Regions from separate parts of the Homo sapiens genome. Here region 2 is linked to region 1. Evidence: promoter capture Hi-C in 16 types of primary human blood cells and fetal thymus (Javierre and others, 2016). All regions are on one chromosome and are shown on one strand. Each heading gives the region's core, a stretch centred on a gene start or on the middle of the fragment in contact. The rest is flanking DNA. Distances are from core to core; before and after follow the strand shown.

Evidence for each region. The method cuts DNA at HindIII sites, captures the fragments that hold promoters and counts their contacts. A CHiCAGO score of 5 or more calls a contact.
Region 2: a contact is called between a fragment that was not itself captured here and the fragment with the promoter of PHF13 in region 1, in 1 of 17 cell types (neutrophils). The highest score is 5.8, in neutrophils.

Annotation. Positions count from the first base shown.
Region 1 is chr1:6,611,309-6,618,396 of GRCh38, forward strand. It overlaps PHF13 (PHD finger protein 13), which reads left to right and starts at 2,423. Exons shown (of 4, transcript NM_153812.3): 1 at 2,423-2,797; 2 at 5,449-5,550. The coding sequence starts at 2,759. LOC107984913 (a long non-coding RNA gene) reads right to left here and starts at 2,079. Exons shown (of 2, transcript XR_001737882.3): 1 at 1,384-2,079. RefSeq lists silencers at 1,872-1,921, 1,972-2,751, 2,922-3,011, 3,152-3,611. The HindIII fragment of the contact is 6,383 bases long and covers 1-4,524 here.
Region 2 is chr1:6,798,254-6,804,616 of GRCh38, forward strand. The region is part of intron 1 of CAMTA1 (calmodulin binding transcription activator 1); the gene reads left to right. Among named protein-coding and RNA genes, the nearest start is that of CAMTA1, 16 kb to the left of the region's middle. The HindIII fragment of the contact is 730 bases long and covers 2,721-3,450 here.

The DNA of each region.
Region 1 (7,088 bases), core at 1,173-3,672:
GTGTGTGTGGGAAAGGATTTAATGTTTATTATGTGACACATTTACCACAGGGGATAATAATGAGGTGTAAAAAAAAAAATCCCTCTTCTTTCACTTGGGTTTCACCTCTAATAATTATTCTTGGCCAGGCGCGGTGGCTCACGCCTGTAATCCCTGCACTTTGGGAGGCCTAGGTGTGCGGATCACGAGGTCAAGAGATCAAGACCATCTGGCCAACATGGTGAAACCCTGTCTGTACTAAAAATACAAAAACTAGCTGGGCGTGGTGGTGGGCGCTGGTAGTCCAGGCTACTTGGGAGGCTGAGGCAGGAGAATCGCTTGAACCCGGGAGGTGGAGGTTGCAGTGAGCTGAGATGGCGCCACTGTACTCCAGCCTGGCGACAGAGGGAGATTCTGTCTCCAAAAAAAAAAAGAATTATTCTTTTTGGTATTTACATTTTTAAACTACCAACGGGATCAACACCTTAGCAGTGTTTCTTATTCTGGCAAAACGAGTTGCTCCTTGTGAATATGACCTTGGGCAATACAGGCTAACTTCGGGGCATCTGCTTTGGTCACAGTAACCAGGTAACATTCCAAATCTGGCTAAATCATCTGTGCAATTGTATAAGAAGTTGTTAATCAAGTCTCGATGGGCCAAGTCCAATGTCTCTGTTTTAATCAGTAATTTCATGTTTTATCTTGTAAAGTACCTCAATTTATCACCTTTGGGAAGCCCTCCAATGGGCTACAATATTGCAGAAATAATAAAACAACAACAACAACAACAACAGTAAGCTACCATTTATTTAGCCAGGCACTACGCTAAAATTTAACAGCTTAGGAAACTGAGGCTCAGAGAAGTATTTTTTTTTTTTTTTTTGAGACAGAGTCTCGCTCTGTCGCCCAGGCTGGAGTGCAGTGGCACGATCTCGGCTCACTGCAAGCTCCGCCTCCCGGGTTCAAGCAATTCTCCCGCCTCAGCCTCCCGAGTAGCTGGGATTACAGGTGTCCGCCACCACGCCCATCTAATTTTTGTATTTTTAGTAAAGACGGGGTTTCACCATGTTGGTCAGGCTGGTTTCGAACTCCTGACCTCGTGATCCACCCGCCTCGGCCTCCCAAAGTGCTGGGAATACAGGCGCGAGCCACCGCGCCCGGCCGCTCAGAGAAGTATTTCTAAGATTAACACCATCTCCTAACTATTAAATATCTTCATCAGAATGATCATAACCCTTGAAATAGCAACAGCCAGCTTGATGGAGCATTCGGCGCCTGTCAAATATCTTACTAGTATCTCCAAGAGTTCGTTTTCTAATTTGAATTTTCAATTTTGTGTCACTCCCCTTTAACTTCTTCGAAGCTACCAAACAGGTTACTGAATCATCTGCGTTTTGTACTTACCTTTTTCCCCCACTTTCGAATATTAAAAATGTTCCCGTCAGACCGCCTTTTGGTCACCGCATAGGGGCAGTCCCCACCGTGTCCGGCCAGCCTTCCACACGTACAGCTGTCGGATACTCTGCGGTCCAGCGTTTACACACTGCCCATCCCAGTTAAACACCACTAAACAAGTACCAGTCGATGCCAGCGCCAAACACCGCGTCTCCGCCTCGCCCTGCGGGCCGGAGGATATTCAGGAGAGTGGGAAAACGGCCGGTCCCAAGGTTAGGCTTAGGCGGCAACAGAAAGCAAACTGAACGCACACCTCTTTAGAACACTGACAACGCTGGCCCGGTGTTTTTAATGCACGAACCCGGCCACCTCGAGTGAATCCCGCAGATGCCTAGAGAAGAGCCCGGTCCAGTCCCGGCCCCGCGGGCCCGGAGCAGGGAGCCGCACGAAGCCCGCAGCCGCGAAAACAACTTCGCTGAGCCCGGCCTGGAGCGGGGGCCGGGCGGCGACTCCGCCCTCAGCGGGGAGCGGGGAGCGGGGAGCGATGCCCGGGGCGGCCGCGACGTCAGCGTCCCCGCCCCTGCCGCCCCTACTCCCGGCCAGGCCTCGGGGACCCCCGCCCCACAAAGGGGCGCGAACCCCAAGTAGGAGACGAGGAAGGGTAGGTGCCAGCCGCCGCCGCCCTTCGCAACCCGGGCCGTCAGCCCCGCCCCCACCGCCGCAGCGACTCCCGCCCCCGCGCCCGCCGAGACCAAGGCGCTACCGCTCACACTGCCCCTCCCCCCGCGGCCGAGCCGGCGCGGGCCCCCGCACCTCCCCCGCTCGCGCGGCCTCGAGTCCAGAAGACCCGCCTCCACACACCGGGGCCGCCGCCGCGGAGCCTCATGGGGGTTGGAGTCCCCAAGGTTTCCTTTGTGCGCAGTATTGGCGGGGCCTTGGACTACCACTCCCACAAGGCACCGCGCCCGCCTCCCGCGCCACGCCCCCTCGCCGCTGGCTTCCAGTCGCCACCCAGACTACATTTCCCGACAGGCCTCCCGGCTCTCCCGCCCTCCCTCCCGAGACACGAGCCGAACTGGGCGTCAGGTCGGGGAGCCGGTCGGGTTCCCGCTCACCGCCGCCGCCGCCGCCCCCTGCAGCCACTCTCCCGCCTCTACCGCCGCGGGAGCTGCATCGTCCACTCCGGTCGGCGGTGGAACCGCCAGTCCGGGGTCACAGAGCTTGAGAAGCGACGCGCTGAGCCCCCCATCACCTCCAGCCCGGGCGACCCCTCCCGGGTCCGCCCTCGCCCTGCGCAGCCGCCCGAGCCCCCAGCCCCGGGCGGCCCCGCTCCAGCATCCCAGCTCCTGCACTCTCGCAGCCGCCGCCGCCCCCCGCCCGGAACATGGACTCTGACTCTTGCGCCGCCGCCTTCCACCCGGAGGTGAGTGAAGCTGTGCGTCCGAATCGCCCCCGACCACCCCCTCCGCGATCCTGCCGTCCTCAGGCAGCCAGACCCCCGGTCGCCCGGAGCGCCGCCCTCCCCTTCCCCCGCTTTCCCCTCGTCGGCCCCCCCGGGAGCCCAACCCCCGCCCCCTGCTCGGGCCCGCGCTCGGTCCTCTCCGCCGGGCCTCGCCTCCGCGTCCCCTCCGCGGACCTCCGCGTCCTCCCCGCGCCCTTTCCCCAGGGCCGTTGCGCCTATTTCTCTCCCCCGGGCCGCCCCTCTCCGGCCTCGCGTCGACCTGGGACCTGTCGGCGCCCCCAGCCCCTCCCCGCCGGCCTGCTTACTCTTTCCCCGCCCCCGGGGACGCGGTCCGAGCCGCCGCCCGCCCCTGGCTCCGGTTGCTCTCGAGGAGTTTTAGGCCCCCCTCGGACCGGGGTCGGCTCCCGAGGCCCCCGGCTGCTCCCCCGATCCCCCGGGCCCGGTGGCCCGCGCCCCGCCCCCTGACTCCGCGCGGGGCCCAGTCGGCCCCCGCCCCCTACGGCTCTCGGGGGCCGCGTCCTCCGGGGGCCCCACCCGCTCTGGGGACCCGAGTCCTGCCCCCACCCACCGCCCCCCGGCGCGCTGGCCTCTCTCTTCGGGCCCCCGCCCCCCGCCCGCGGGCTTTGCTGGCTCCGCCCCGGCTCACTCCCCCTCCTTCCGGGGATCGGCCCTCGGGGCTCCCGGCCTCCCCCCCGCGCGGTCCCCTCCCCCCAGCCGAGGCTCGTTGGGGTCGGGGGTGCGGGTCCGGCGACCGCGGGCGGGTGGGGGAGGGGAGGCGGCGCCGGAGCCCGCCGGTCTCGCTGCCGCCCCCGGGGGTTCGCAGGGCCTCCCCAGGCCTGGGACCCCGGAATCCTGCCTGGCGCACCCCCCTCACACATACTCGCGGGATGGGCCCCGCACCTTCGGGGGCCGAGTGTCGCGGGGGGCGGCTGCCGCGGGAGGGCGGGTGGGGGCCGCTCCGCCATCTGCTTTCCGAGGAGGCGGCCGGGGGGGCGGGCGGCGTGGGCCGTGTGGGGGCGGCGTGGAACCCCCAGTCCCCGCGCCGGTGCCTCCCGCGCGCCCCCGGCCCGAGGCCGTCGCCGCCCTCCACTTGGCATTCGGGTTTTTGACCCACTTCTGCTGGTTCCCCGCCGAAAGAAAAGTTCTTCGCGGGAGTTGGAGGCCCGGGTGGCGGCCCGCGGTTCCCGTGGCTGGGCAGGCTCGCCAGTGCGGGGAGCGCGGTCAACGCGGGCCTTCGCCTCCGCTCCGTGGGCGGCCCTGGGGTCCAAGGGGGTGGGAGAGGAGAAGGTTTGCTTGAACCAGGTTGAGAAAATAATTTTCTAAGGGCACCGACTTTCTCGAAAGAAAACCCGCGGGCCGCACGCCTGCTCCTCGCGGCGGGAGGGGCGGCCCGAGACCCCTGCCCCCCATTTCCCCACCGGCTCTCCCCCAGCAGAGTGGCGGCCGGGTAACAGCACCTCGGGAAGGATGGGGGTGGGTCGGACAAGGCACTGAAAGGAACCTCAGGGAACGTGCCGGGCGAATAAACAGCAATACGGCACACTTGTTTTGCTTAGGAGCAAATAAGAGCTCCATCTCTCCGTGCTTCTCTCAGGAGAAAATATCTTTTTGTGATGGGTGTTTCTAGATGGAATGGGGCTGGGACCCGCGAGCAAAAACCTCCACTATTCCGTTTAAATGTAAGACTAAGCTTCGCAGTAAGGTTCTTGGTTTATTGTGAGTTGAGATAGTTGGGTGCCTGGCATCCCGACTGGCTGGGACAGTGGAGGGGACCCTCTGAGCACGAGAGAGGGGTCCTCAGGTGGCGCTAGCTTGGCAGGGTCAGCCAGGAGTGAACTCCAGGGTCCAGGTCTCCGAGAGCTCTGGAGAATGAGTGGTTGATTTTTTTTTTTTTTTTTTTTTGAGTTGGAATCTTAGCTCTGTCTACCGGGCTGGAGTGCAGTGGCGCGATCTTGGCTCACTGTAACCTCCGCCTCCGGGTTCACGCGATTCTCCTGCCTCAGCCTCCTGAGTAGTTGGGACTACAGGTGCACGCCACCACGCCCGGCTAATTTTTGTATTTTTAGTAGAGACGGGGTTTCACCATGTTGGTCAGGCTGGTCTCGAACTCCTGACCTCGTGATCCGCCCGCCTCGGCCTCCCAAAGTGCTGGGATTACAGACGAGAGCCACCGCGCCCGGCGAGTGGTTGATTTTTGAAATCACTTAACATACATCAGTTCCAGCTGCTGCTGCAGCAGTTCATACTCAGAATGGAAAATCTGTAGCAAAAAAGTAGTTATTAGAGCTTCGCCTGATAGGCCTGTGGAAACTAATAGATAAAGTCAGAAAATGCCACATGAGCACTAAGAAATAGACTTTTGTAGAAGTTTTTATCTCCCAGCTGATTTCCCAGCATTCTTGGCATAAAGTCTTAATACTCCTCTTTCTGCTCTCTGAAAATAGTGTTATTTCTTGACCTGAACTTACCGTATCTTGTTTGTGGACTGTGTAAATCTAACGGTATTTTTTGAGTGATTGACTACAAAAGTTCCAGCTTACTTCCTTTTGTTTCTGTGATTCCGCCTGGAAGCCTCTCCTTCAAACACATTCCCTTTTCTCTCCCCTTAATAGGAATACTCCCCCAGTTGCAAGAGGCGCAGGACCGTGGAAGACTTCAACAAATTCTGCACCTTTGTCTTGGCCTATGCTGGCTACATCCCTTATCCGAAGGAGGTAATCTTCTGAGTTTCTGAGACCTTTCTTGATGAGTAGTCAAACCCAGTGCCTCCACCGCAAGTTCGTGGGCTTCTGACTGGTCAGAGGGTCAGTAGGTTTGGAAGGGGCTGCTTGTGGTGACCCCAGTCACTAGTCTGGCAGAAATCTGTTTCTTGAGAGTTTGAATTAGCTGGGGAAATGGTTCTAAAACTCTGGTAAAAACTCTGGTAGAAAATGCAGGCTTGTCTAGAAAATGATTTAGTAAACTTTCTTTTTTTTTGGAATGGAAACTTGCTCTGTCGCCCAGGCTGGAGTGCAGTGTCGTAAAACTCCACCCCCGGGTTCAAGGGATTCTCCTGCCTCAACCTCCTCAGTAGTTGGGATGACAGGCGTGCGCCACCACGCTAATTCTTTTTTGTATTTTTGGTAGAGACAGGGTTTTACCTTGTTGGCCAGACTGGTCTCGAACTCCTGACCTCAGGTGATTCACCTGCCTCGGCCTCCCAGAGTGCTGGGATTACAGGCGTGAGCTACCGCCCAGCCGATTTAGTAAACTTTCAGTTTATTTACAAATAAAATATGTGATATTTGCTTGCTCTTTTTGTTTGTTTGTTTGAAATGGAGTCTGGCTCTGTCGCCCAGGCTGGAGTGCCGTGGTGCAATTGTGGCTCACTGCAACCTCTGCCTCCTGGGTTCAAGCGATTCTCCTGTCTCAGCCTCATGAGTAGCTGGGCGCGCCACCACACCCAGCTAGTTTTTTGTATTTTTACTAGAGACGGGGTTTCACCGTGTTGTCGAGGCTGGTCTCGAACTCCTGACCTCATGATCCACCCGCCTCGGCCTCCCAAAAGTGCTGGGATTACAAGCGTTGAGCCACTGCACCTGGCTGTCTGCTTGCTTTTAATAAGGGTCTGTAGTTACTGACTGTTGACCATAGCTGGACACTATTCTTGGCCTATGTAATGCTATGAGGTAGGTGCTATTTTTTATCTCCAGTTTATAAGCTGAGGAAACTAAGGCATAGAGAGGGAAAACTTTGTCTTAGGTCACCCACTGATTAGTGGTGGAGCTTGGGGTTCAACCAGATGGCTGGACTCAGTGCACACGCTGCCTCTGTCTCAGCTCCCTGGCTGCCCGAAATGCGTATGATTGTCTTCAGGGACTCATGGCTGCAACTTGATGTAGATGAAGGAGGTTTTTTCACTTGCTGAGAACAGGGCAGGACTGGAGGAGAGCGGCTGTGGTGCTCAGACTTCAGGCCTCTTTCGTATTCGATTAAGCTCAAAATTGAACAATCCAGCTTTTTTTTTTTTGCGACAGGTCTTGCTCTGTTGCCCAGGCTGGAGTGCAGTGGCACAGTCTTGGCTCACTGCAGCCTCTTTCTCCTGTGCTGAAGTGATCCTCCCACCTCAGCCTTCCAAGTAGCTGGGACTACAGGCCCACCACCACACCCACCTAATTTTTGTATTTTTAGTAGATACAAGGTTTCGCCATGTTGCCCAGGTTGGTGTCAAACTCCTGGCCTCAAGTGACCCACCTGCCTTGGCTTCCCAAAG
Region 2 (6,363 bases), core at 1,836-4,335, 190 kb after region 1:
CTGGGATTACAGGTGTGAGCTACCGCACCCAGCCTAAAAAAGGAATATTTAATGGTAGAGGGCTCTGTAAAAACCCCCTAATTTTCAAAGCCATGTGCCACTGTAGAATTTATGAAAAGTTATGGGCTATTATTATTAGGTTTCAAAAAGTCTGGAATACTGGCGGTAGCATCAGAATTATTTATTTATTTATCTTTTGAGACAGAGTCTATCTCTGTCGCCCAGGCTAGAGTGCAGTGATGCAAGCTCCACTTCTCGAGTTCACGCCATTCTCCTGCCTCAGCCTCTTGGGTAGCTGGGACCACAGGCGCCCACCACCACACCTGGCTAATTTTTTTTTTTTTTTTTTTTTTTGAGACGGAGTCTCGCTCTGTCGCCCAGGCCGGACTGCGGACTGCAGTGGCGCAATCTCGGCTCACTGCAAGCTCCGCTTCCCGGGTTCACGCCATTCTCCTGCCTCAGCCTCCCGAGTAGCTGGGACTACAGGCGCCCGCCACCGCGCCCGGCTAATTTTTTGTATTTTTAGTAGAGACGGGGTTTCACCTTGTTAGCCAGGATGGTCTCTATCTCCTGACCTCATGATCCGTCCGCCTCTGCCTCCCAAAGTGCTCGGATTACAGACGTTAGCCTCCACCTCCACGCCTGGCTAAAGCGTTATCATTTTTATCTAACCCTGAACCAATCAGTGATTGGTTAGTTCTCTAGCTGTGAAGGCTTTGCACTTCCTAGACAGCTTGTAGAACAAGCCCACTTGGATTCCCAGCTCAAACTCTTTCCTTTTTACTATTTATTTATTATTTATTTATTCGTTACTTATTATTAATTAAAAAAATTTTTTAGAGACAAGAGTCTTGATCTGTCACCCAGGCTAGAGTGCCATCACAGCTCACTGCAACCTTGAACTCTTGGGTTCAAGTGATCCTCCTGCCTCAGCCTCCTGAGTAGTGAGGACTACGGGCGTGTGCCACCACACCCGGCTAATTCTTTTTTAATTTTATGGAGAAAGGGTCTTGCTATGTTGCGCAGGCTTGTCTTGTACTCCTGGCCTCAAGCAGTCATCCTGTCTCAGCCTCCCAAAGTGCCAGGCTTACAGGCATGAGCCGCTGTGCCTGGCTTGTACTCTTTCACTAGCTGGGAATGCTGGTGAGCAGGACTCAAGGATCCCAGCAGAGCTGCATCCTGTGCTGTCTTTGCTGCCACTTAGGTGGACCAGGAGCTAGAAGCCTTTCTCTCCATGGCCTCCATACCTTCTTTTACCAGATGGTATTTCTGCATTTATCACTCTTGATTCCAGCACAGCTTTTCCTCATCTTGCTTTTCTCAGACCTCAGCTCTTATGTAATGAGATAGTTGGTAGTCATTTTGAGGGGATTCATGTGTTGGGTAAAGGGTTTTCCTAGCGATGACCTCGAAAGTTCCTTCCCATTAATAATAATTACTATTAATAATTAATAGCAATAACTAATGATAAAACAGAACAGTTGCAGCAATATACTGTAATAAAAGTTGTGTGAATGTGGTCTCTCTCTCTCTCTGATTATCTTATTGTACCATACTCACCTATTTTTGGACCTTAGTTGACCGCTTGTAACTGAAACCATGGATAAGAGGGGGACTATTGTGTAAGGAAATGAAGTCGGAGATATGGAATTTCATTTCAGGGCTTGCTTTCCTGATATTCAGCTATTCTGTATAACTGTATCTTTTCCTTTTGAGGTCCTTGCTCCAGGACAAGAATAATATGTTGACTCAAGCTGTATGGGGGGATTTGAACTACAGACACTCAGATATCTCCTTTCTGAGGTACATAGAGGGCTTAATTTTTTAGGTCTGTCTGTTTAATATACTATATTTACTTTAAAAAACGTAGGCCGGGTGCTGTGGCTCGGTGCCTATAATCTAAGCACTTTGGGAGGCCGAGACGGGAGGATTGCTTTAGCCCTGGAGTTCGAGACCAGCCTGGGCAACATAGTGAGACCTTGTCTCTACTAAAAATAGAAAAAATTAGCCAGATGTGTTGGTGTGCGCCTGTGATCCCAGGTACCTGGGAGGCTGAGGTTGGAGGATTACTTGAGCCCTTGAGGTCAAGGCTGCAGTGAGCTACGATCACGCCACTGCACTCCAGTCTGGATGACAGAGTGAGATCCTGTCTCAAAACAAACAAAATGTAAAAAAATTTAAATTTATTAAAAAAGATGTACAACACCAAAATGTTCATAGTTATTCTGTATGACAGATCTGAGGTCTTTGTTCAGACATAGATGAGGGTTCATAGTTTTGGAAAATAGACTTAAATAATATATGATTACAGATGAAAAATATTTGCTAACCTCAGACTTTTTATGTTTAAGGTAGTATTTATATTCATTTAGTTGTACTTTCTGGAGTTGATTAATATAACTGTTATTAAAATCTATCGATTCCCAGTAATTCAGTAAATGAAGACTCTTCCTATTTAGAAACTCGTGTGGATTGGGGAGTTGCTGTGGGCCCACTGTCATTGATCATATCACATCTTCACTTGAACCTGCTCCCTGGGCCTCCTATAGGCCTCGCGTTTGGAGAGGCCGTGAACATAATTTATTTTTGGAAGTTTCTTTCATTTTTAAAGATACTGAGAGGCAAGTTGAAGTTCCTGGTGTTCGTGTAAACATTCCCTGCCTTATCCTTTCCATCTCAGCCATTATGAAATGTTCTGGCTGAATCATTTGCTTTCACAAAGCTTTGATGAAAGTTTCTTCCTCATTTGGTTTTCTTGATAGAGGCTGTTGTGCTAAAAAGAAAGCTATAACAAGTTAGAAGGGTGGAGAGTGGGCACTTAACATTTTTGAAGTACTTGTCTTTCTTCCTAGGGGTCCTCCAGAAATTGATCATAGATAACTTGACCAAATTCAAGGCCCAGAGATTTCTTCCAGGCATTCTGGGAGGGAAGGAACATCAGGCTTTCTGTACTGAATCTAATTATTCTAAATATTTCCCACTGCAGCTTGTATGAGTGTTTTCTGATGCAAATATGGTGATAGTGGCGACCTCTCTAACTGGGCTAAATATCCTTGACAGCTTTTTATCTGTCCTCTCCAAGTATTTTTAGTCTCTTTAGCTTCTGTGGCCATGTCTGGAGGAACTGAGGATGGATTTAGCTGCTCTGGTGCTGCTCCAAGTTGTTGTGGGTGCTCTTTGCTACCTTCGTCACTGTCCTGCCACAGTCCTGCCACTGATGAGGCTCCTGGCCCTTGTCATTTGATGAGGGAACATAAACACTTGTTTAATAAAAATAAAAAAGTCATGATTTTCAGAATGCTTTGAAAATAAGCTATGGCTAATGGTGATACACAATAGGAATGTCCCTAATTTCACTAAATTGTATGCTCAAAAAGGGTTAAAGTGGTAAATTTTATGTTATGCATATTTTGCCACAATTAAAAAAATAAAAACTTCAAATGGATTTGAAGCTTAATGAGAAAACTAGTTATAATGTCCTAACAGTAAATATATGGCCAATATTTTCATGACCCCAAGGTGGGAGGCTGTGCCTTAAATAAACTGTCAGAATCACACATTAAAAAAAAAAAAAAGTGATGGTAATCAGGCCCTGAGGTTCATTTATACAGAAAGTGATTTTTAGGTGAGATTTTAATATTTGCAATATTTATATTTGTAAAGAGGATTGGCTAGCTCATTCAGAAAAGTCTGAGGTTCTTAATAAACACTAGGAAACAGATGGTTTGGGGTTGATGTCAGGGAAGGTAAGCAGGCCGTGCTTTAGATTAGAGCACTTTTGATTGCAAGTCCCATGAGCCACACAGTTTAGGCCAAGTGAAAGCAGTTTTAGTCTAAGAAGAGCAGAAGCAATCGTAGCCTCTCGGGACAGAAACTGAAGTGCAGCTGGGCAGTGGGAACTGGATCTGGAGAGTCTGGAGTACATGTCTTCTCTGGAGCTGGGCTTTTTCCATTCACATGTAGCTTCCTTGCTTGAGTTACATGTAGTGGCCTTAGTCATGGCTCCTGCATGTCCTGACTCTAGTTCCAGTACTCATCATCATCTGACTCCCATTTCTATGGCTCAGTACAAAAATATTCAAGACTGGGTATTGGACTGACTCCTCTCAGCCATTTGCTTTGTTTCCATAGGCCAGGTGATCATCTCACTCTGGTCGACTATGAAAGAAGGTTGGTTAGATCCAGCAGCCTGCTGATCATTTAGAGGGTCTTAGAGTGAGAGGAGATTGTGTGAGAAGCTGGTTATCATAGCAGGGGGTCCTGGCACCTCAAACTCTGTCCCCATCAAACAGTGTAAAAGAAAAGATATTGACTCCTAAAGGAGTGTCTTATGTTCAGATGCTATAGAGTTTTGCAGAGAAAGTGTTCAGTGTAGCTACAGATAGAAGGCCAAGTGTCCTTGGTCAGCCAGCCTGGGTGTGTGTGGAGTAAGTTAGTGGTAGGTGTAGTAACTGTCTCAAAGCTTTTTCTTTGTCTCTCTCTCTCTCTTTTTTTTTTTTGAGACAAGGTCTTATTCTGTCGCCCAGGCTGGAGTGCAGTAGCACAATTTCAGCTCACTGAAGCCTCGACAGCCTGGGCTCAAGTGATCCTCCCACCTCAGCCCCCCAAGCTGAGGACTTAGCTGGAAAACACAGGCATATGCCACAACGCCCGGCTGATTTTTATGTTTTTAGTAGAGACAGGGGTTTCATTATGTTGCCTAGGCTGGTCTTGAACTCTTGGCCAGCTCAAGCAATCCACCTGCCTCAGTCTCTCAAAGGGCTGGGATTACAGGCGTGAGCCACCGTGCCCGGCCCCAGAACTTTTTCTTTGAATAGTGGAGAAGCAGAACACCTTGGAATGCTATGGTCTGTGCGGTCTTTGCCCTGTGGGTGTTCTCAGGTGGAATCAGGCAGTTTGGGTGATGTCAGTATCATTTGAGGTCTTCCACAGTTCAGCTATTTGGGTGGGCTTCCCCACTTTTCCCCTTGTTTTGGGTCGGTAAACATAAAAGGATGGAGATGTGTATCCTTAGTAAGAATGGGAGACGTTGCCTTCAGAATGGGTAGAAAGCAGAAAACAAGCGGGGAAGAAAACAGAAAACAGCCTCTCTTTAAGTGTATGTGGCTGCCTGTGTGCACAGTCCTTCACCTTTTCCTTAGTATATCCCTCCTGCCTCTGATCTCTTGTTGTTCTTGATTTTTCATGGTAGAAGGAGGAAACAAAATTATAGAAGACAGGTGGAATACTGTGAAAGAATAGTAGTTTGGAGATAACTATGTAAAGGGCTACTAGCCTGCGCACCGTTGAATTCTCTGAATTTACAGCTGTTTAGTCATTGATGTTTCATAGTGTTGACCTTGAGTAAATTCAGAAAAGCAATACTGAGTATGTTCTGCTAAACAAAAGAGGAAAGTGTATGTTTTTAAAGAAACAACCTTCACAGTGGTTTCAGTAGTTACAGGGATTTGGTTCTTTTTTAAATTATTTTATTTCTTTTTAAAGATGGTCTCACTCTGTCATCCAGGCTGGAGTGCAGAGGTGTGATCGTAGCTCACTGGCACCTTGAATTCCTGGACTCAAGTGATCCTCCTGCCTCAGACTCCCAAGTGGTTAGGAGTACAGGCATGTATCACCATGCCTAGCTGATTAAAATTTTTTTTTTTTTGGCCAGGCATGGTGGCTCACGCCTGTAATCCCAGCACTTTGGGAGGCTGAGGCGGGTGGATCTCCTGAGGTCAGGAGTTCCAGACCAGCTTGGCCAACATGGGTGAAACCCCTTCTCTACTAAAAAAAATACAAAAAGCTGGGCATGGTGGCGGGTGCCAGTAATCCTAGCTACTTGGGAGGCTGAGGCAGGAGAATCAGTTGAACCCGGGAGGCAGAGGTTGCAGTGTGTCGAGATTGTGCCATCGCACTCCAGCCTGGGAAACGAGCGAAACTCTTTTTTTTTTTTTTTTTTTTTGGTAAAGACAGGGTCTCAATATGTTGCCCAGGCTGATCTTAAACTCCTGGCCTCAAGTGATCCTCCAGCCTTGGCCTCCCGAAGTGCTGGGATTGCAGGTATAAGCCACTGTGCCCAGCCTGATTTGTTTTTTAATAATAGCTTAAGATGTAATTCATATATTATAAAATTAACCCTTTTAAAATATATAATTGAGTGGGTTTTCTTTTGTATATTTACATGTTTCGTGCAACTGTCCCCACTCTCTAATTCCACATTTTCATCACTCCAAAAAGAAAATCTGTACCCATTAGCAGCCACTCCCTGTTGCCTCCTCCTCCCGGCCCTAGTCAATTACTAATCTGCTTTATTTCTTTATGCATATTTATGCCTAGTGTGAACATTTCATATAAATAGAATCATGTAGTGTTTGTCCTTTT